Linked DNA regions of Homo sapiens: regions 2, 3, 4, 5, 6 and 7 are each linked to region 1. Evidence: promoter capture Hi-C in 16 types of primary human blood cells and fetal thymus (Javierre and others, 2016). All regions are on one chromosome and are shown on one strand. Each heading gives the region's core, a stretch centred on a gene start or on the middle of the fragment in contact. The rest is flanking DNA. Distances are from core to core; before and after follow the strand shown.

Region 1 (2,733 bases), core at 116-2,615:
GACCTCAGGTGATCCACCCGCCTCGGTCTCCCAAAGCGCTGGGATTCCAGGCGTGAGCCACCGCGCCCGGCCTAGTTTGACTCTTTTCGTGGACAGTTTGAAGTGTGGAATGCAAGAATATTCAGGGTTATTTGTCAGGCTGCAAAGTTGTTCCACTACCCTGCGGGAAAATGGATACAATTTTAGGCTTAGGTGTTAACAGATAACATTGTTAAGTGTGGGAAGGGCGACAACTGCACTGCAGCTGTGGCCAGTGGCGCGGGAGGGTGTCTAAACTCAAAGCCCACTGGAAGGCGAGTCGCCCATGACCAGGACTAGGGCCCAGGTGCCCCAGATAGAAGGCACCTCGTTCCCTATTGCCCCTCACTAACTCCCGTGACCAGGAGTCCCCACTCCCAACCTTGTCCTGGGGATTCTGGGGAGAAACTGCCCCAGCGCAGAGGCTACTCCAAGGGTTGTCCTTGGTCCGGCGCAAAGGGTTCGTCCGCCACCCTCCCGGCTGCGCACCCCGCGCTCGGACGCTCTAGAAAGGACTTGGGACGGGGGTTGCCTGTGGAGCGGGGGCCTAGGCTTCCTGAGCAGGGAGAGGATTGCACTTTGCTCCCCTTGGGGAACTCCCTGAGGTGAGCAGCGGGGAGGGGCCCCCATACTTTTCCCAGCAGGGGAGCCGGGAGTTTCCTCTGCTCCCACTGCAGAGCAGGGGAGGGTCCCTGCTAGGGGCGGAGAAGGGGCTGCAGGGGCGAGTGGGGAGGGGGGCTACACGTTTCCAAGAAGGGCGGCAGTTTCGTGTCGCTACAGTTGCAGGCGTGCATTTAGGAGGCTGTAGACAGGGAGGGACCCGCACTTTCCCGAGCAGGGGAGCTGCTGGGAAAGTTTGTTTTTTTGCTCCCACTGGAGACCAGGGGGTGAGGGGCGGAGAAGTGGCTGCAGGGGCGAGTGGGGAGAGGGGGCTCTATGTTTCCAAGAAGGGCGGCAGTTTTGTGCCACTACAGTTAAGGGCCGCCCTCGGGCGTGCATTCAGAGGGCTGTAAACCGGGAGGGACCCGCACTTTCCCGAGAACGTTGTAGTTCACTTTGCTTCGGGTCGGCGCCGCCCTGGCTACGGCCCTGTGGGTGGGTGAGGGGGCGTGGGCAGTTTCCTGAGAAGGGGCGGGGCGTGTACCGTACTCCCCTCGGCGCTGCCTGGGCCACCCCCGCCCGCCTACCCCCTCTGTCTCCTCCCCGGGCCCGGCGTTCCCGCCCCTTCTGTGCGCGCGTGGAGGCCGGGGCGGGGCGGGCGCAGCCGGCGCTGAGCTTGCAGGGCCGCTCCCCTCACCCGCCCCCTTCGAGTCCCCGGGCTTCGCCCCACCCGGCCCGTGGGGGAGTATCTGTCCTGCCGCCTTCGCCCACGCCCTGCACTCCGGGACCGTCCCTGCGCGCTCTGGGCGCACCATGGCCCGCGGGGCTGCGCTGGCGCTGCTGCTCTTCGGCCTGCTGGGTGTTCTGGTCGCCGCCCCGGGTGAGCGAGCGGAGGGATCCGGGTTGGGGGACGCGGAGGGCGCGGGCCGGGACTGGGGATCCGCTTGAGATGCGGCGTTGGGGGCGCCCCGCGGGGACACCCGGAGCCTCCTCCCTGCCCGGCAGGACGCGCTGTGCCCACGGGGGCCCAGGCCCGGAGGAGGCGCCCACTTTCTCCCCAACGCTTTTCCTGGAGCCGTTCCAGAGAGAAAAGTCAGCGTTTGTTGTCGGAGTTGCAAACTCTTACATGTGGGGCGGCCTTGGGAGAGGTGCGTCCGATTTTTCCCAATCTAGGGGACCTTCTTACAGATCTCTCTCCCTTTGCATGAGCCCCTCACCCCACCCCGTTATCTACCCCCAGGGTTTGGGGACCTGCGTCTTCAGGCCGCGCGCGGAGGCCGCCCTGGAGTTGCCTGTCACAGCCACGCCCTGCGTCCCGGGCCTAAATTTGGAATCGCTAGGAGCCTGAGACCCGGGTGGTGGGGGGAAGGGAAGGAAAAGTTAGAAAAAAACTTTGAGCCCTGAAAATGTTCAAAAATACTCTGTGGATGCGGGCTCCGGGAATTTCAGCGCGTGCTGTGCGCCAAGCAACACGGGGCGCAGAAAGAAACGTGTGCTTACCAAATTGTCCATCTGCGGCGGTGGAGAATTCGGAAAACAGAAAAAGTGGGCAGGGAAGAAAGAGCCACGGTCACCCTCCCACGCCCTAAACCGGGCCTATTTCTAATTATTACTTTAATCATGTTTTTCTGTTTCCCTCCCTTTGAAACGGAAACGGAGACCCTGCCGGATGTGGTATGTTATAAATTCTTTTTTCATGTTATAAATTCTTTTTTCAATGGTCAGTGCATTTTTTGCTCTTCGTATGGGCAGGCTTTTAAGTAGACCGGCTTGCGGGCAGTGTGGACTTCAGGACGGGCCTTATCAGGGCTGGACGTATTTAGGAAGGAGACGCGGGAACGCCCGGCCCTGGGGAGGACGGAGGAGGCCCGATTTGTGTTGATAGGATCTAGCTCAGCCTAGAGCTGCGGTGACTAGGCCGGGTCTCTATTTTTAGGGAGGAGTTGCTAATGGATTTACACCCTCTTTAAAGGGGTCCCGGGTATCCTAGAAATTGTGCTTTCACTTGGTAGAGATTAGAGATAATGAAGCCTGCTCCGTAGAGGAAAACTTGGAGGACTTTCCAGCCTGCAGGGGAGGTTCCAAGCAGAGCTTCCTGTTTCTCCCTTTTCTTCC
Region 2 (2,733 bases), core at 120-2,619, 1.7 Mb before region 1:
AAGGAAATATTTTTGTAGACGCAGTGATATGGTTTTGCTGTGTCCCCACCCAAATCTCAAATTGCAGCTCCCAAAATTCCCACGTGTCATGGGACTTACCCAGTGGGAGGTAACTGAATCACAGGGCAGGTCTTTCCCTTGCTGTTCACACAATAGTGAAGACGTCTCATGAGATCAGATGGTTTTATAAAGGGGACTTTCCCCTTTTCTCTTGCTTGCCACCATGGAAGACATGACTTTGCTCCTCCTTTGCCTTCCGCCATGATTGCGAGGTCTCCTCAGCCATGTGGAACTGTGAGTCCGTTAAACCTCTTTCCTTTATCTTTTACCCAGTCTCGGGCTGGGCGCGGTGACTCATGCCTGTCATCCCAGCACTTTGAGAGGCCGAGGCAGGAGGATCACCTGAGGTCGGGAGTTCAAGACCAGCCTGCCCAACGTGGAGAAACCCTGTCTGTACTAAAAATACAAAACTAGCAGGGCGTGCTGGCACGTGCCTGTAATCCCAGCTACTCGGGAGGCTGAGGCAGGAGAATCGCTTGAACCCGGGAGGCGGAGGTTGCAGTGAGCCGAGATGGCACCATTGCACTCCAGCCTGGGTGACAAGAGCAAAACTCCATCTCAATCAATCAATCAATCAATCAATAACCCAGTCTCAGGTATGTCTTTATTAGCAGCCTGAGAACAGAGTTATATACACAGAGTCTTGCTATGTTGCCCAGTCTGGTCTCGAACTTCTGGGGTAAGTGATGCTCCCACCTCAACCTCTCAAAGTGGTGGGATTACAGGCGTGAGCCGCCGCGCCCGGCCTCCATGAGTCTGATTTTAACCCATGTCTTTTGTATTTCTCAGTCCTTGTCCACACATCTCATCACACACGTGCGCAGCAAACAGGCACACCCAGTGTGAACCCAGGCACAGCTCTCCGAGAGAACTCTAGTCAACACGTCGTCCGTGGGACATCGGCTGTATTTCTGTTCCTTTCCTTCTTTTCTGTCTCTTTCTCTTATTTCCCAAAACTCCGTTGTGTTTCTGATTTGTTCACATCGCTTTCGGCAAAAGGAAAACACAATGGTAAGTGGGGTTTATAAATCTATCTTCGTTATCAAGGGAAGATTGAAACGGCATGGAGACAAATGAAATTAACTGTGCACGGGACACACCGTCAACAAAACGCTAATAAGTGCAGAAAGACTGTTTAGCAGGAAACATGTCCAAAAAAAAAAAAGAAAAGAAAGGATCTTAATCATGGTTTAAGCTTATCTGATGGATTTCAACAGAGACACATCAAGTCTAATTGAATGTTTACGTGCACTTTTTATGGTTTCTGTATTCTGTGTAATGAAATAACATTACAAAAAAGCGTTGAGACGCAAGAAACTCTGGGATTCTTCTAAAGGGAGAGTTGGAGTTACTACATTCAACATGGACGGCTTCTCTTCTGTATTTCAACAGCGTTATCGTCTGCAAATTTGGAGATTCTCTGAAAGCTTCACGGCCATCCTGGGTCTCAAACTCTTTGAATATTCATACTGTAAACTATCTGACAACATGGGATTGGGTTTTGGCATTCTCTAGGTCTACTGAGAGAGGTTCTGGAATGCAATTTAACTTTAAATGCCTACCTACCTACCTGCCTATCATCTATCTATCTGTCTAACATCTATCTGTCTTTCAATCATCTATCCATTCGTCTCATCTATCTACCTACCTATCTATTCATCCATCTCATCTATCCATCCATCCATCCATTCATCCTGCCATCTATCCATCTATGTATCTATCTATCTAGTCATCCATCTCATCTGTCTTCCTATCCATGTATCATCTATCTACTTACCTATTAACTATCATCTATCAATCAAGCTATCTATATATCCATCATCTATCTACCTTATCTATTATCAATCTATCGTGTGTCCATCTATGTACTATCACCTGTCAATCTGTCATCTACCATCTGTTTATCTACCCATCTCATCATCTATCAACTACCCATCCATCTTTATCTATCTATCTATGTATCTATCTATCTATCTTTTTTTTTTTTTTTTTGAGACAGAGTGTCACTCTGTCGCCCAGGCTGGAGTGCAATGGCGCAATCTCGGCTCACTGCAAGCTCCGCCTCCCAGGTTCACGCCATTCTCCTGCCTCAGCCTCCCGAGTAGCTGGGACTACAGGCGCCCGCCACCATGCCCGGCTAATTTTTTGTATTTTTAGTAGAGATGGGGTTTCACCGTGGTCTCGATCTCCTGACCTCGTGATCCGCCCGCCTCGGCCTCCCAAAGTGCTGGGATTACAGGCGTGAGCCACCGTGCCTGGCCCTATCTATCTATCTATCTATCTATCTATCTATCTATCTATCTATCATCTATCCATCCATCACATCTCTTTATCTACCCATTCATCTTATTTATTTGTCTATTTATGTATAATCGGTCTATCCATTTCATCTATCTATCTATATACCAACCTATCATCTATCTATCCATTCATCTATGTATATCTATCTATCCATCTATGTGTCTATCTACGTATCTATTATCTATCTATCCACTATCACTAATCTATCATCTATATATCCACCTATATCATCTATCATCTCTCGAGTCATGTCATGTATCATCCATCTATGTATCTATGTATGTATGTATGTATGTATGTATGTATCTATCTATCTATCTATCTATCATGAACCCAAAATATCTGAGACAGGTGTCAATCAATTTAGCAGGT
Region 3 (2,733 bases), core at 77-2,576, 1.5 Mb before region 1:
GCTCTCTGCTAAATGATGAGACTCGTGGATGAGTGTGCAGTTGTGTGGTCAGTGTTCTGTGATATACTCTGCACCCAAGCTGGGCTGGACATCCAGAGACTTCATAGTTCATCTGTCTTCAGACAAACGCAGAGTTCACCTTTGCCGCTGACCAGCTTCCCAGACCAAGGGACTCAAGCTTGTAGGCATTCTCCTCGTAACACCACAAACACTGTGATGGTAGCATATGCTGGGTAGATGGGGCCCCAGTTTAAGACTGTAGAGGACCGGGCACGGTGGCTCACGCCTGTCATCCCAGCACTCTGGGAGGCCGAGGCCGGAGGATCCCCTGAGGTCAGGAGTTCGAGACCAGCCTGGCCAACACGGTGAAACCCCGTCTCTGCTAAAAATACAAAAATTAGCCGGGCGTGGTGGTGGGTGCCTGTTATCCCAACTACTCAGGAAGCTGAGGCAGGAGAATGGCGTGAACCCGGGAGGCGGAGTTGGCAGTGAGCTGAGATCGTGCCACGGCACTCCAGCCTGGGCGACAAGAGCAAGACTCCGTCTCAAAATATATAAATAAATAAATAAGTGAATAAATAAAAGTCTGGAGAGAGCTGGTTGGAACAGACATGTCATCTTAAAAGATCTCGGCTCATGCCTGGAGATTCCTTGCGGTCAAAACACAAGTGTGCCAGGCAGAGCAGGTGATTCCTGTTGGTTGCCACCACTCCTTCGTACAAGCAAAGCAGAAGTGATTGTGGGAACTGTTTAGAGATGCGGTTTGGGGACTTTCAGAGCACAAATGCAGGATCTTTCTCCAGTACGTGACGGAAGAATTTTAGGTGTTCTTTTGCTTGACAGCAGGAAGATTGGATTAACCGTGAGTGACCAGTTTGAGACCACTAACATTTGTTTTATGTTTTTTTGAGGTGGAGAGTCTCCCTCTGTCACCCAGGCTGGAGTGCAATGGTGCAATCTCAGCTCACTGCAACTTCTGCCTCTTGGGTTCAAGCAACAGGCACCTGCCACCACACCTGGCTGATTTTTTGTTTTTCTGTTTTTGAGGGGTTATTTTTTGAGACGGAGTTTCTCTTGCTGCCCAGGCTGGAGTGCAATGGTGCAATCTCAGCTCACTGCAACTTCTGCCTCTCTGGTTCAAGCAGTTCTCCTGCCTCAGCCTGCCGAGTAGCTGGGATTACAGGCACCTGCCACCACACCTGGCTCCTTTTTTGTTTTTCTGTTTTTTTGTTTTTTGTTTTTTTGAGACGGAGTCTTGCTCTGTCGCCCAGGCTGGAGTGCAGTGGTGTGATCTCTGCTCACTGCAAGCTCCACCTTCAGGGTTCACGCCATTCTCCTGCCTCAGCCTCCCGAGTAGCTGGGACTACGGGTGCCCACCACCACGCCCGGCTTATTTTTGTATTTTCAGTAGAGACAGGGTTTCACCATATTAGCCAGGATGGTCTCGATCTCCTGACCTCGTGATCCGCCAGCCTCAGCCTCCCAAAATGCTGGGATGATGGGCATGAGCCACCGCGCCCCGCCCAATGCTTTCATTATTGAGAGCTCTGAGCTCCATGGTTCGTCATGGAAGAGATAAAATAATCCAAATAATGACACAGTGTGAAAGGTTAGATGACAACGTTGACCAGAATACCATGTCTCACGGAACCCTGTAGAGAGTAGGGGACAAGAAGGAAGTGTGAGCCTCAAGAACCATCTCCTGCCGGGCTCATTGGTTCATGCCTGTCATCCCAGCACTTTGTGAGGCCGAGGCGGGAGGATCACCTGAGGTCAGGAGTTCAAGACCAGCCTGGCCAACATGGAGAAACTCCGTCTCTACTAAAAATACAAAAATTAGCCAGGCGTGGTGGCAGGTGCCTGTAATCCCAGCACTTTGGGAGGCTGAGGCGGGAGGATCATCTGACTTCTGGAGTTAGAGACCAACATGGTGAAACCCTGTCTCCACTAAAAATAGAAAAATTAGCCAGGCGTGGTGGCATGCACCTGTTATCCCAGCTGCTCGGGAGGGTGAGGCAGGAGAATCGCTGGAACCCGGGAGGCGGAGGTTGCAGTGAGCCGAGATGGCACCACTGCATTCCAGCCTGGTGACAGGGCAAGACTCTGTCTCAAAAAAAAAAAAAAAAAAAAAAAAGCATCTCTGCCCAGGACCCTCCACAACTTCTGCTTCTACAGATGACAGAAATGGCTTCATTCAATACTCACTCAAGATACATTTGTTGAGGGTCTGTTATCTCCCAGGCACTGGGGAGGTGACAATAATATCACCTAGCTCAGAGAGACAAAGTGATAATATACATAAAACATTGAGCATTGTTCTGAATTCAGCCCCCAATCAACGTCCACTGTTACTACTGGACAGTAGATACTGTCGCATGCAAAGTAGGCAAGTCTGCAGAGAGAGAGAAAGGAGGTTGGCCTACAAACAGACAGGACTCCCTGCCCTCGTGAAGAATGCGTTCTGTAGGACGAGACGAAGCTTAAATAAGTACGTATGCTCTGGACATGGTCATGGTGAGCGCTGGGAAAAGGGGAAGTGGCCGGGCGCGGTGGCTCATGCCTGTAATCCCAATACTTTGGGAGGACGAGGCGGGTGGATCACCTGAGGCCAAGAGTTCAAGACCAGCCTGGACAACATAGTGAAACCCTGTCTCTACTGAAAATACAAAAATTAGCTGGGCATGGTGGCGGGTGCCTGTAATCCCAGCACTTTGGGAGGCTGAGGCGGGAGGA
Region 4 (2,733 bases), core at 162-2,661, 1.4 Mb before region 1:
CGGGTGTGGTGGATCACGCCTGTAGTCCCAGCATTTTGGGAGGCCGAGGCGGGTGGATCACGAGGTCAGGAGTTCGAGACCATCCTGGCCAACATGGTGAAACCCCGTCTCTACTAAAAATACAAAAATTGGCCAGGCATGGTGATGCACGCCAGTAATCCCAGCTACTCAGGAGGCTGAGGCAAGAGAATGGCGTGAACCCGGGAGGCAGAGATTGCAGTGAGCAGAGGTCGCGCCACCTGCACTCAGGCCTGGTGACAGAGGAAGACTCCCTCTCAAAATAATAATGATAAACAAAGTGCTGGGATTACAGGCTTGAGCCACCACTCCCGGCCTGGGGCTGTAGTTTTCCATTTCTTTGTTCCAAAGGCCGGAGTCACCAGCTTATCTTAATTTGCCTTGTGGTCTACCTGCCAACCTTCCCACCACCCCACACAGGAAAACTCATTGAGTCTGCTTCAGCAGACAACACCCTGAGACTTTTCCCACTGGTGCCTTTACTTATTACAACGCCGAGCTGCTTCAGAGGCAGAACAGGCTTATCTGAGTCCTCAGACTTCTCTCCTTCCCAACAGCATCAACATTTTCCAGGAAAATCACGACTTGTGAATTTATTATTTTTATTTTATTTTATTTATTTTTTGAGATAGAATTTCACTCTTGTTGCCCAGGCTGGAGTGCAATGGCATGATCTCAGCTCACTGCAACGGCCACCTCCCAGGTTCAATCGATTCTCCTGCCTCAGCCTCCCGAGTAGCTGGGATTACAGCCAACTGCCACCACACCCAGCTATTTTTTTTGTATTTTTGTTAGAGATGGGGTTTCACCATGATGACCAGGCTGCTCTCGAACTCCTGACCTCAAGTGATCTGCCTGCCTCGGCCTCCCAGACTGCTGGGATTACAGGTGTGAGCCACTGCGCACGGCCCATGTGTAGATTTATTAAATGCCCCTGTTCGGCCTCCCAAAGTGCTGGGATTATAGGTGTGAGCCACCTCGCCCAACCCACCATCTAAAGTCTGTCTCTGAGCTTTACCTCATACCACCCCCCCTCCTGGTACCCATCCCTGCCCCTGAGAAAAGGGAGGTGAAGGAGACCAGGAACCACAGTTTTCAGCTAAGAGGAAACTCAGGTCAGAAAGTCCCTGCCTGGCCCACATCCCTCATTCTAAAGAGAGAACTGGGGCTTCCCAGCAAGGAACAAGGAGATGGCACAGACAAGGCTATGTCTGTTCAAACAGTGACATTCTCTGGGCCATGTGTCCATCAAGCAAAAGATATCACCATCCCCAGGTTCACAGACCAGGACAGGCACCTACAGGAAGCCGCTTACAGGTGCTGGGATGTATCTCAGAGCTCGGTCCTTTGAACACATCCCTCCGGGCCACGTTCTGGCGTTAGTACTGGAGGTTAAAGATTCACGGGACCATTGTTTCTGGAAAGGCAGGGAAGTATAAATAAACAAATGCTCAATGTCATCTGAAGGTGACGTACGAGGGAAGCGGAGAACTGAGAACTGGAGGCGGAGGGTTTCCAGTCATGGCAGAAGGCAAAGAACTGGGGCTTCCCAGCAAGGAACAAGCAGATGGCACAGACAAGGCCATGTCTGTAAAAGCAGTGACATTCTCTGGGCCATGTGTCCATCAAGCAAAAGATATCACCATCCCCATGTTCACAGACCAGGACAGGCACCTACAGGAAGCCGCTTACAGGTGCTGGGATGAATCTCAGAGCTCGGTCCTTTGAACACATCCCTCCAGGCCACGTTCTGGCCTTAGTACTGGAGGTTAAAGATTCACGGGACCATTGTTTCTGGAAAGGCAGGGAAGTATAAATAAACAAATGCTCAATATCATCTGAAGGTGACGTATGAGGGAAGCAGAGAACGGAGAACTGGAGGCGGAGGGTTTCCAGTCATGGCAGAAGGCAAAGAACTGGGGCTTCCCAGCAAGGAACAAGCAGATGGCACAGACAAGGCTATGTCTGTAAAAGCAGTGACATTCTCTGGGCCATGTGTCCATCAAGCAAAAGATATCACCATCCCCAGGTTCACAGACCAGGACAGGCACCTACAGGAAGCCGCTTACAGGTGCTGGGATGAATCTCAGAGCTCAGTCCTTTGAACACATTCCTCAGGGCCACGTTCTGGCCTTAGTACTGGAGGTTAAAGATTCACAGGACCATTGTTTCTGGAAAGGCAGGGAAGTATAAATAAACAAATGCTCAATGTCATCTGAAGGTGACATACGAGGAAAGTGGAGAACTGAGAACTGGAGGCGGAGGGTTTCCAGTCATGGTGCAAGGCAAAGGGGTAGAAGGAATTACATGGTGAGAAAGGAAGCGAGAGAGAAGCCAGGGTCTTTTTTATTTTTTTGAGACGGAGTCTCACTCTGTTGCCCAGGCTGGAGTGCAGTGGCGCGATCTTGGCTCACTGCAACCTCCGCCTCCCAGGTTCAAGCGATTCTCCTGCCTCAGCCTACTGAGTAGCTGGGACTACAGGCGCCTGCCACAGCGTCTGGCTAATTTTTTTTTTGTATTTTTGGTACAGACGGGGTTTCACCATGTTAGCCAGGATGGTCTCAATCTCCTGACCTCGTGATCCGCCCACCTCGGCCTCCCAAAGTGCTGGGATTACAGGCGTGAGCCACTGCGCCTGGCTTTTTTCTTTTTTTGAGACAGTCTCACTCTGTCACCAGGCTGCAGTGCAGTGGCGCAATCTCGGCTCACTGCAAC
Region 5 (2,733 bases), core at 104-2,603, 1.3 Mb before region 1:
AACGATCCTCCCTGGGCCTCTCCGAGTGCTGGGACACCCCGCCCTGCTAAGTTTAAAACTTTTTCTTAGAGACGGGGTCTTGCTATGTTGCCCTGGCTGGTCTCAAACTCCTGAGCTCAGGCGATCCTCCCTGGGCCTCTCAAAGTGCGGGGACACCCCGCCTGCTAAGTTTTAAAAATTTTCTTAGAGATGGGGTCTTGCTATGTTGTCCTGGCTGGTCTCAAACTCCCGGGACACGCCACCCTGTACTAGGTTTAAAAAATTATCTTAGAGATGCGGTCTTGCTCTGTTGCCCAGGCTGGTCTCAAACTCCTGAGCTCACGCGATCCTCTCCGGGCCTCTCAATGCACTGGGACGTCCTGCTTCGTTAAGTTAAAATAATTTTTTTTGAGGTGAGGTCTTGCTGTGTGGCCCCGGCTGCTCTCAAACTCCTGGCCTCAAGCAATACTCCCCGGGCCTCTCAAAAGCGCTGGGATCGCGGGCGTGACCTGTCCTTGCAGCCAAGCCTATTCATTCCCATCACCGAGCTGTCACTCGGAGTACAACGTTAGCAAGGACGTCCTGGCGGCAATGTTCCTAGGCATCATGCTACTTTCTATAAGCCTCTCCCAAAAGACAAAAAATGCATTGCTCTGGATCAGAATTGCACAAATGAGCTAAGAAGGGGGTAAGAACCACCAATAACCATATCCTGGTTATTCCAGGACACCTGCGGGCAGGCTCGTTGCCCTATTGGCCTTAGAATTACCCTTCACGGTGGAGGGAGCAAGAGCAGACACCTGCCAGGCATCCACCGGAAGGGTTGGTCCCAGCCGGGGGACCCGCAGGATTGAGCTCAAGGTCAAGGCCCGCCAGCCGCAGGGTCCGTCCATGGGCCCTGCTCAGCGCGCATGCGCCCTCCAATCCGTGCCGCATTTCCCCCCGCCCGCCGGGCCCAGTGCGCACGCGTGGACGTCGCCACGCCCTGCAGCAGCGGTCACGTGACGCGGCCCCCGGAAGCCGGCGGCGCGTGGACAAAGCGATCGCGGCCTTCCACTTCCGGCGCCCGCCTGCAAGGCTCTGCTGCCCACGTCCCCGCCCGACCCGGCCACTCGGTTCCCGTCCCCTAGTCCCCGGAGCGGCCGCGCCCGCGTCCCCACCTGCAGCAGCAGCTTGACCCGCTCGATCGGAGCCACGGCCGTCTTGGAGATGGCGGCGGCGATGCCTCCGGCCAAGAAGTCTTTGGCGAAGGAGATGGCCTGTTCCGTCATGGTGGCAGGGCGGGCAGCGGAACGGGAGGACAGCCGGAGAACGGGCGCGGAGAGTGAATGGAGGGCGTCGCTGGCTCAGCCCTGCCGCCGCCTGGACCGAAAGGACGGAGCAGCCACCGCGCAGCCGCTAAGACGCCGACGCCACGCCCACTCTCCGCCCCCGCGCCTCCTCGCGCCGCGCTCATTGGCTGCGCCGCCAGGCCCCGCCCCACACCAGCCTGCGTGCCTCGCCTCTGAGGGCTGCCGGGAATCCCGCTGCGTCCCGCCCCGCACTCCAGCGAACCGCGCCCATTGGCTGCGCTCCCCGGAGACGTCCCGCCCCGCACCCCTAGGTATGCCGGGAGCCAGGCCCCGCCCATGCGCCGTAGGGGCCGCTGGGGGTTCCGCGGCAGCCTTGACCTTGTGAAGGTCAGGCCGCTGCCAGTACCCGAGCGGGCGGGAGGGCAGCTGCGGAGTCAGAAGCCCACCCTGATGCCCAGTTCGCTCCGAGTGCGTCGTCCGCTTTCTCCCGGAGGCCGCGGCGACCCCGCCGGGATGTGCGACATGTGGTGCCCCGACCCCCGACCCTTGACCCTTGACCTCCGGGCAGCTCCGACCCTTTCAACACTCTCCGGGGTCGTGCGTCGGGAGACCCCGGCCCCTGCCCGCGTGCACCCGGGGGGCCCCGCGCGAAGCCTGCGGCGGCTTCCACGTGGGCGCGGCTCAGTCCCGCTGCCGATCCGTGACTCCGCGCCGCCCTCCGCGCCCGGCCTAGGTTGGTGGGGGGGGGATCTCTCTGGGCCTCCGTTCTTTGACCCCGCGGTGCCCTCCGCGCCGGGGCTGGGGGTTCCGTGGGCCGCGCCCACCCGCCCGGGCTCCCCTATTTCCCCGTGTCTGTGCCCGTGTCTGCCCGGCGGGGGCTGCGGCCGGGGTCCTCCTTCGCGACCTCCCACTCCGCCCTTCCTCCCTCCCTCCCTCCCTCCCTCCCGCCTCCCTCCTCCCTCCCTCCCGCCTCCCTCCTCCCTCCTCCCGCCTCCTCTCCCTTCCCGGCTCTCTCCCGCCCGCCCTTTTCTCCCCGTCTCTTCCTTCCCTGCTTGCCTTTGCTTTTTGCTGCTTTCCCGCCTCCCTCCTTTTTCTCCGTCTTTCCGTCTCTGCCTTCGTTTCCCTCCCTCCCTTTTTCTTTCATTTCTCTCTCCCTTTCTCCTTCCTTTCTTGCTACGTTTCTTCCCTCTTTTTCATTTTTTTCCTTCCTTTTTCTGCTTTTCTCCCTCCGCCCTTCCTCTGTTTTTTCTTTGCTCCCTCCCTCTTTTTTCTCCCTCTTTCCGTCTCTCCTTCCCTTTTCCTCTTTCCTTCCCTTCCTCCCTTTTCTGCCTTTCCCTCCTTCCCTCTCTTTTCCTTTTCCTCTTTATTTCCTGTCTCCCTTCCTCTCGTCCCTTTCTCCCCTCTCTCTTTTCCGTTTTTTTTTTCTTTTGAGACAGAGTTTCGCTCTTGTTGCCCAAGCTGG
Region 6 (2,733 bases), core at 117-2,616, 1.2 Mb before region 1:
CAGGTTACTCTCCCATCCCCATTCCTAGGGGGTTCTGGGTCACTCCCTGCAACCCCATGCCTAGGGGTTTCGGGTCACTCTCCCCACCCCCATCCCTAGGGGGGTCCCGGGTCACTTGACCTCCCCATTCCTAGGGGTCCCGGGTTACTCTCCTCTCCCCCATCCCTAGGGGTCCCGGGTTACTCTCCCCACCCCCATCCCTAGGGGGGTCTCGGCTTACTCTCCCTATCCCCAACCCTGGAGGTCCCGGGTTACTCTCCCCATCCCCATGCCTGGGGGTCCCGGGTTACTCTCCCCATCCCCATCCATGGGGCTCCGGGGTCACTCTGCTGTCCCCATCCCTAGCGGTCCTGGGTCACTCCTCCCTCCCCATCCCTAGGGGGTCCCGGGTCACTCTCCCCAACCACATGCCTAGGGCGTCCTGGGTTACTCTCCCCACCCCCATCGCTAGGGGGTCCCAGGTTACAGGTTACTCTCTCCAACCCCATCCCTAAGGTGTCCCGGGTTTCTCTCCCCTCCCCCACCCCTAGGGGGGTCCCGGGTTACTCTCCCCTCCCCCATCCCTAGGGGGTCCTGGGTCACTCTCCCCAACCCCATCCCTAGGGGTCCCGGGTTATTCTCCCCAACCCCATTCCTGGGGGTCTCGGCTTACTCTCCCCATCCCCATGCCTGGGGGTCCCGGGTTACTCTCCTCTCCCCCATCCCTAGGGGTCCCGGGTTACTCCCCCACCCCCATCCCTAGGGGGGGTCTCGGCTTACTCTCCCCATCCCCAACCCTGGAGGTCCCGGGTTACTCTCCCCATCCCCATGCCTGGGGGTCCCGGGTTACTCTCCTCATCCCCATCCATGGGGCTCCGGGGTCACTCTGCTGTCCCCATCCCTAGCGGTCCTGGGTCACTCTACCCTCCCCATTCCTAGGGGTCCCGGGTTACGATCCCCTCCCCCATCCCTATGGGGACCCAGGTCACTCCCCACCCCCATGCCTAGGGGGTTCCGGGTTACTCTCCCCTCCCCCATCCCTAGAGGTTCCGGGTCACTCTCCCCAACCCTATCCCTGGAGGTCCCGGGACACTCTCCCCTCCCCCATCCCTAAGGGTCTCGGGTCACTCTCCCATCCCTATCCCTAGAGTTCCTGAGTCGCTGGGCCCTCCGGGGTTCAGCCCCTCCGTCCCCGGTCCCCTGCCCCGCCCAGGCCCAGGCCGTACCGCGTTGCTGAGGATCTCCTGACGGCGTGGGGAGGCGCTGGCCAGCACCACGCGCTTGTGCAGCAGCTTCCCAATCACCGGGCACAGCACCATGGCGTCCACGCCGGGAGCCGGGCGTCCGCACTTCTGAGCCCGGAGCCCGCGGTGCGCGCAGCGCGGCTGCAAAAAAAACAGGCGGCCAGAGTCCCGCCTCCGCGAGGCCACGCCCCCGCCCGCCTCCGCGAGGCCACGCCCAGTCCGCGCCTTCAGTGGCCTCCCCGCGAGACCGCGCCCAGGCCACGCCTCCATTGAACACTCCGTCAGGCCTCGCCCAGGCCACACCTCCATTGCCCTCTCCACCAGGCCACGCCCATGTCACGCCCCATTGATCTCCCCTGAGACCACGCCCAGACCACGCCTCCATTGCCCTCTCCGTCAGGCCACGCCCAGGCCACACCTCCATTGCCCTCTCCGCCAGGCCACGCCCATGTCACGCCGCCATTGACCGCTCCGCCAGGCCACGCCCAGGCCACACCTCCTTGCCCTCTCCGCCAGGCCACGCCCATGCCACGCCGCCATTGAGCTCCCCGTGAGGCCACGCCCAGGCCACACCCCCGCCCGCCTCCCCCCCGGGCACCGCCCCGGCCGCTTGGTGAAGCACCGCCCCCAGCTCCGCCTCCCGGGCCCCGTCCCCGCCCCCGGCGCTCGCCCCGCCCCTCCCCACCCCGCCTGCGGCGCCAAGACCTGCAATGGCGCAGGCAGCTGCGGGGTCCCGGGGAGGAAAGGCTGGCGTGGATACTTGGGGTTCCTTGCAGGCGCGGCGTGGGGAGTGGAAATGCTGGGTTTCCGCAGCTGCGGTTGTGGGCAGTTGTGGGGGTGGGGGGTTCTTACCCGCACGTGGAGGGGCCCGGCGCAGAGATGGGGGTCTTGTGGGAGCCGCGTCGGGGAAGGTAGAGATAGGGGGTTCCCCGCGGACCCGGTGCGAGTGGCGTGGGGATGGGGATGTCCTCGTGCCTGGTGGGAGGGGAGTGGAGATGGGGGTGTCCACGGGCCTGGTGGGAGGGGCGTGGAGATGGGGGTGTCCACGGGCCTGGTGGGAGGGGCGTGGAGATGGGGGTGTCCACGGGCCTGGTGGGAGGGGCGTGGAGATGGGGGTGTCCACGGGCCTGGTGGGAGGGGCGTGGAGATGGGGGTGTCCACGGGCCTGGTGGGAGGGGCGTGGAGATGGGGGTGTCCACGGGCCTGGTGGGAGGGGCGTGGAGATGGGGATCCCCGCGGGGATGGTGGGAGGGGTTTGGAGATGAGGGTCCCCGCGAGAATGCTCGGAGGGGTATGGATATGGGGGTCCCCGCGGGCCGGGTGGGAAGGGCGGGGAGATGGGTGGGGGGGGGGTCCCCGCGTGCCTGGTGGGAGGGGCGTGGAGAAGGTGGGGGTCCTTGTGGGAGGGGCGTGGACACTGGGGATCCGCGCGGGCGTGGTGATGGGCGCGGCGTGGGGACCCCCTGGGGGCGCGGTGCTGGGGGCGCAGGGATGGGACCAGGGCGGGCGC
Region 7 (2,733 bases), core at 167-2,666, 1.2 Mb before region 1:
CACCACGCCTGGCTGATTTTTTACTTTTTGTAGCCCCAAAAAGAGTTTCACCATGTTAACCAGGCTGGTCTTGAATTCCTGACCTCAGGTGAGCCACCAGCCCCGGCCTCCTAAAGTGCTGGGATGACAGTCGTGAGCCACTGCACCTGGCCAGGTTGGACCCTTTTTCTTATGCTTTGCAGGTAAATGCACACCTGTCTGGCAGCAATGCATCCAGCAATGTTTCTCTCCTCTTGAGGGTCTGTGTGTATCTCCTCCAGCCCTCTCACTTATTTCTTCTTAAAACAGCTTTGCCAGCCGGGCACGGTGGCTCACACCTGTAATCCCAGCACTTTGGAAGGCCGAGGTGGGCAGATCACGAGGTCAGGAGATCAAGACCATCCTGGCTAACACGGTGAAACCCCATCTCTACTAAAAAAACAAAAAAACAAAAAAATTAGCCGGGCGTGGTGGCATGGTGGCGAGTCCCAGCTACTCGGGAGGCTGAGGCAGGAGAATGGCCTGAACCCGGGAGGCGGAGCTTGCAGTGAGCCGAGATCGCACCACTGTACTCCATCCAGCCTGGGCAACAGAGCGAGACTCTGTCTCAAAACAAAACAAAACCAACAAACAAAAAAACAGCTTTACCAAGACGTGAGTTACGTACCATAAGCTTTCACTCATTCATACAGTTCAATGGTTTTTAATATATTCACAGATGTGCAAACAACACCATAATGCAATTCCAGAACCATTTTTATCCCTAAACAAAACTCAGGACCTGGCCGGGCATCATGGCTCACACCTGTAATTCCAGCACTTTGGGAGGCCGAGGCAGGTGGATCACCTGAGGTCAGGAGTTCGAGACCAGCCTGGCCAACATGGTGAAATCCTGTTGTTACTAAAATTAAACAAACAAACAAACAAAAACAAATGGGCCAGGCGCGGTGACTCACGTCTGTAATCCCATCACTTTGGGAGGCCGAGGCAGGTGGATCACCTGAGGTCAGGAGTTCAAGACCAGCCTTCCCAACATGGTGAAACCCTGTCTCTACTAAAAATACAAAAAAAATTAACCGGGTGTTGTGGCACATGCCTGTAATCCCAGCTACTCCAGAGGCTAAGGCAGGAGAATCGCTTGAACCTGGGTAGGGGGCAGAGGTTGCAGTGAGCCGAGATCACACCATTGCACTCCAGCCTGGGCAACAAAAGCAAAACTCCATCTCAAAACAAAACAAAAACCCTTCAGAACCCCACAACTGCTAATCCTGTTCGTTCCTGTCCCCAGCCCCTGTGAACCTCAAATCTGCTTCCTGTCTCTGTGGATCTGCCTATTCTAGATATTTTATAAGAATAAAATTCTACAATATGTGGTCTTTTGTGTCTAGCTTCTGTCACTGAGCCAGGGGTCTTCAAAGTTCATCCACGCTGCAGCCTGGGTCAGAGCTTGAGTCCTTTCAGTGGGTGCATAATAGTCTACTGTGTGGATAGACCACATTCTGTTTATTCATTCTCCTGTGGATGGACATTTTTGTTCTTTCTGATTTTTTTTTTTTTTTTTGAGATGGAGTCTTGCTCTGTTGCCCAGGCTGGAGTGTAGTGGTGCGATCTTGGCTCAGTGCAACCTCCGCCTCCTGGGTTCAAGCAATTCTCCTGCCTCAGCCTCCCAAGTAGCTGGGGCTACAGGAACCTGCCACCACGCCTGGCTAATTTTTTTGTAATTTTTTTTTTGAGAGGGAGTTTCGCTCTTTTTGCCCAGGCTGGAGTGCAATGGTGTGATCTCGGCTCTCGGCAACCTCCGCTTCCCCGGTTCAAGCAATTTTCCTGCCTCAGCCTCTGGAGTAGCTGGGACTACAGGCATGCATCACCGCACCCAGCTAATTTTTGTATTTTTAGTAGAGACAGGGTTTCACCATGTTGGCCAGGCTGGTTGTGAACTGCTGACCTCAGGTGATCCACCCTCCTCAGTCTCCCAAAGTGCTGGGACTACAGACGTGAGCCACCGCGCCCAGCCCATTTTTTTTTTTTTTTTTTTTTTGTAATTTTAGTAACGACGGGGTTTCATCATGTTGGCCAGGCTGGTCTCAAACTCCTGACCTCTGATGTATGATCCACCCTCCTCGGCCTCCCAAAGTGCTGGGATTACAGGCACGAGCCATCACACCCAGCCCATTTTTTTTTTTTAATAATTTTAGTAGCGACAAGCTTTCATCATGTTGGCCAGGCTGGTCTCAAACTCCTGACCTCCCATGATCTGCCCGCCTCGGCCTCCCAAAGTGCTGGGATGACAGGTGTGAGCCACCGCGCCTGGCGTGTTCCTGATTCTTGGCTATTGTGCATAAAGCTGCTCTTCCCTCATTCCCAGCCCTGGGAACCCCTTTCTAAAGGGTTCAGATGCTGAGTGCAGTGATCACTACAGTCTTGTTCCGGGTGGACCTTACAGGGTTGGGATGAGAAATAGACAAAAGGCATCTCCTCGTGGGCAGCAGGGATTGCATGCCGGTGACAGACCCTTTTTTGCCAGCTATTGTCTTCTGGCTATAACCACCCCTCTTTCCTGAGTGCTGGGGGCTGTCCCAGCTGTTGAACACACAGGGGAGTGAGAGGCCCCAGCCCTAAGGAACCACAAGCCAGCCCCGTGCTTGTCGTCTGCTCTCCTTTCTGTTTTCTGGGGGTGTTTGCACCACCCAGTTTGTGGTTCTTTTGATAGGGCTGCCTCAGGAGGCCCTCAACCCCAAAGACAGCAAATGGCAC

What was found. The method cuts DNA at HindIII sites, captures the fragments that hold promoters and counts their contacts. A CHiCAGO score of 5 or more calls a contact.
Region 2: a contact is called between a fragment that was not itself captured here and the fragment with the promoter of CD99 in region 1, in 1 of 17 cell types (total CD4 T cells). The highest score is 5.9, in total CD4 T cells.
Region 3: a fragment that was not itself captured here is called in contact with the fragment with the promoter of CD99 in region 1 in 2 of 17 cell types (total B cells and activated CD4 T cells); the score reaches 5.1 in total B cells.
Region 4: a contact is called between a fragment that was not itself captured here and the fragment with the promoter of CD99 in region 1, in 8 of 17 cell types (non-activated CD4 T cells, naive CD8 T cells, activated CD4 T cells and 5 more). The highest score is 11.8, in non-activated CD4 T cells.
Region 5: a contact is called between the fragment with the promoter of SLC25A6 here and the fragment with the promoter of CD99 in region 1, in 4 of 17 cell types (naive B cells, naive CD8 T cells, total CD8 T cells and 1 more). The highest score is 6.3, in naive B cells.
Region 6: the fragment with the promoter of ASMTL here is called in contact with the fragment with the promoter of CD99 in region 1 in 1 of 17 cell types (non-activated CD4 T cells); the score reaches 5.4 in non-activated CD4 T cells.
Region 7: a contact is called between a fragment that was not itself captured here and the fragment with the promoter of CD99 in region 1, in 4 of 17 cell types (fetal thymus, activated CD4 T cells, non-activated CD4 T cells and 1 more). The highest score is 15.6, in fetal thymus.

Annotation. Positions count from the first base shown.
Region 1 is chrX:2,689,930-2,692,662 of GRCh38, forward strand. It overlaps CD99 (CD99 molecule (Xg blood group)), which reads left to right and starts at 1,366. Exons shown (of 10, transcript NM_002414.5): 1 at 1,366-1,498. The coding sequence starts at 1,432. The HindIII fragment of the contact is 9,076 bases long and covers 1-2,733 here.
Region 2 is chrX:993,136-995,868 of GRCh38, forward strand. No RefSeq gene overlaps it. Among named protein-coding and RNA genes, the nearest start is that of CRLF2, 220 kb to the right of the region's middle. The HindIII fragment of the contact is 232 bases long and covers 1,254-1,485 here.
Region 3 is chrX:1,214,590-1,217,322 of GRCh38, forward strand. No RefSeq gene overlaps it. Among named protein-coding and RNA genes, the nearest start is that of CRLF2, 3.3 kb to the left of the region's middle. The HindIII fragment of the contact is 2,301 bases long and covers 177-2,477 here.
Region 4 is chrX:1,251,901-1,254,633 of GRCh38, forward strand. No RefSeq gene overlaps it. Among named protein-coding and RNA genes, the nearest start is that of CSF2RA, 16 kb to the right of the region's middle. The HindIII fragment of the contact is 8,598 bases long and covers 1-2,733 here.
Region 5 is chrX:1,390,760-1,393,492 of GRCh38, forward strand. It overlaps SLC25A6 (solute carrier family 25 member 6), which reads right to left and starts at 1,354. Exons shown (of 4, transcript NM_001636.4): 1 at 1,140-1,354. The coding sequence starts at 1,250. LOC124900597 (serine/arginine repetitive matrix protein 1-like) reads left to right here and starts at 1,249. Exons shown (of 5, transcript XM_011546186.2): 1 at 1,249-1,472; 2 at 1,583-2,004. The coding sequence starts at 1,249. RefSeq lists enhancers at 618-1,213, 1,214-1,808, 1,252-1,854. The HindIII fragment of the contact is 29,130 bases long and covers 1-2,733 here.
Region 6 is chrX:1,451,543-1,454,275 of GRCh38, forward strand. It overlaps ASMTL (acetylserotonin O-methyltransferase like), which reads right to left and starts at 1,367. Exons shown (of 13, transcript NM_004192.4): 1 at 1,206-1,367. The coding sequence starts at 1,298. The HindIII fragment of the contact is 27,509 bases long and covers 1-2,733 here.
Region 7 is chrX:1,469,315-1,472,047 of GRCh38, forward strand. The region is part of intron 1 of P2RY8 (P2Y receptor family member 8); the gene reads right to left. Among named protein-coding and RNA genes, the nearest start is that of ASMTL, 18 kb to the left of the region's middle. The HindIII fragment of the contact is 1,532 bases long and covers 651-2,182 here.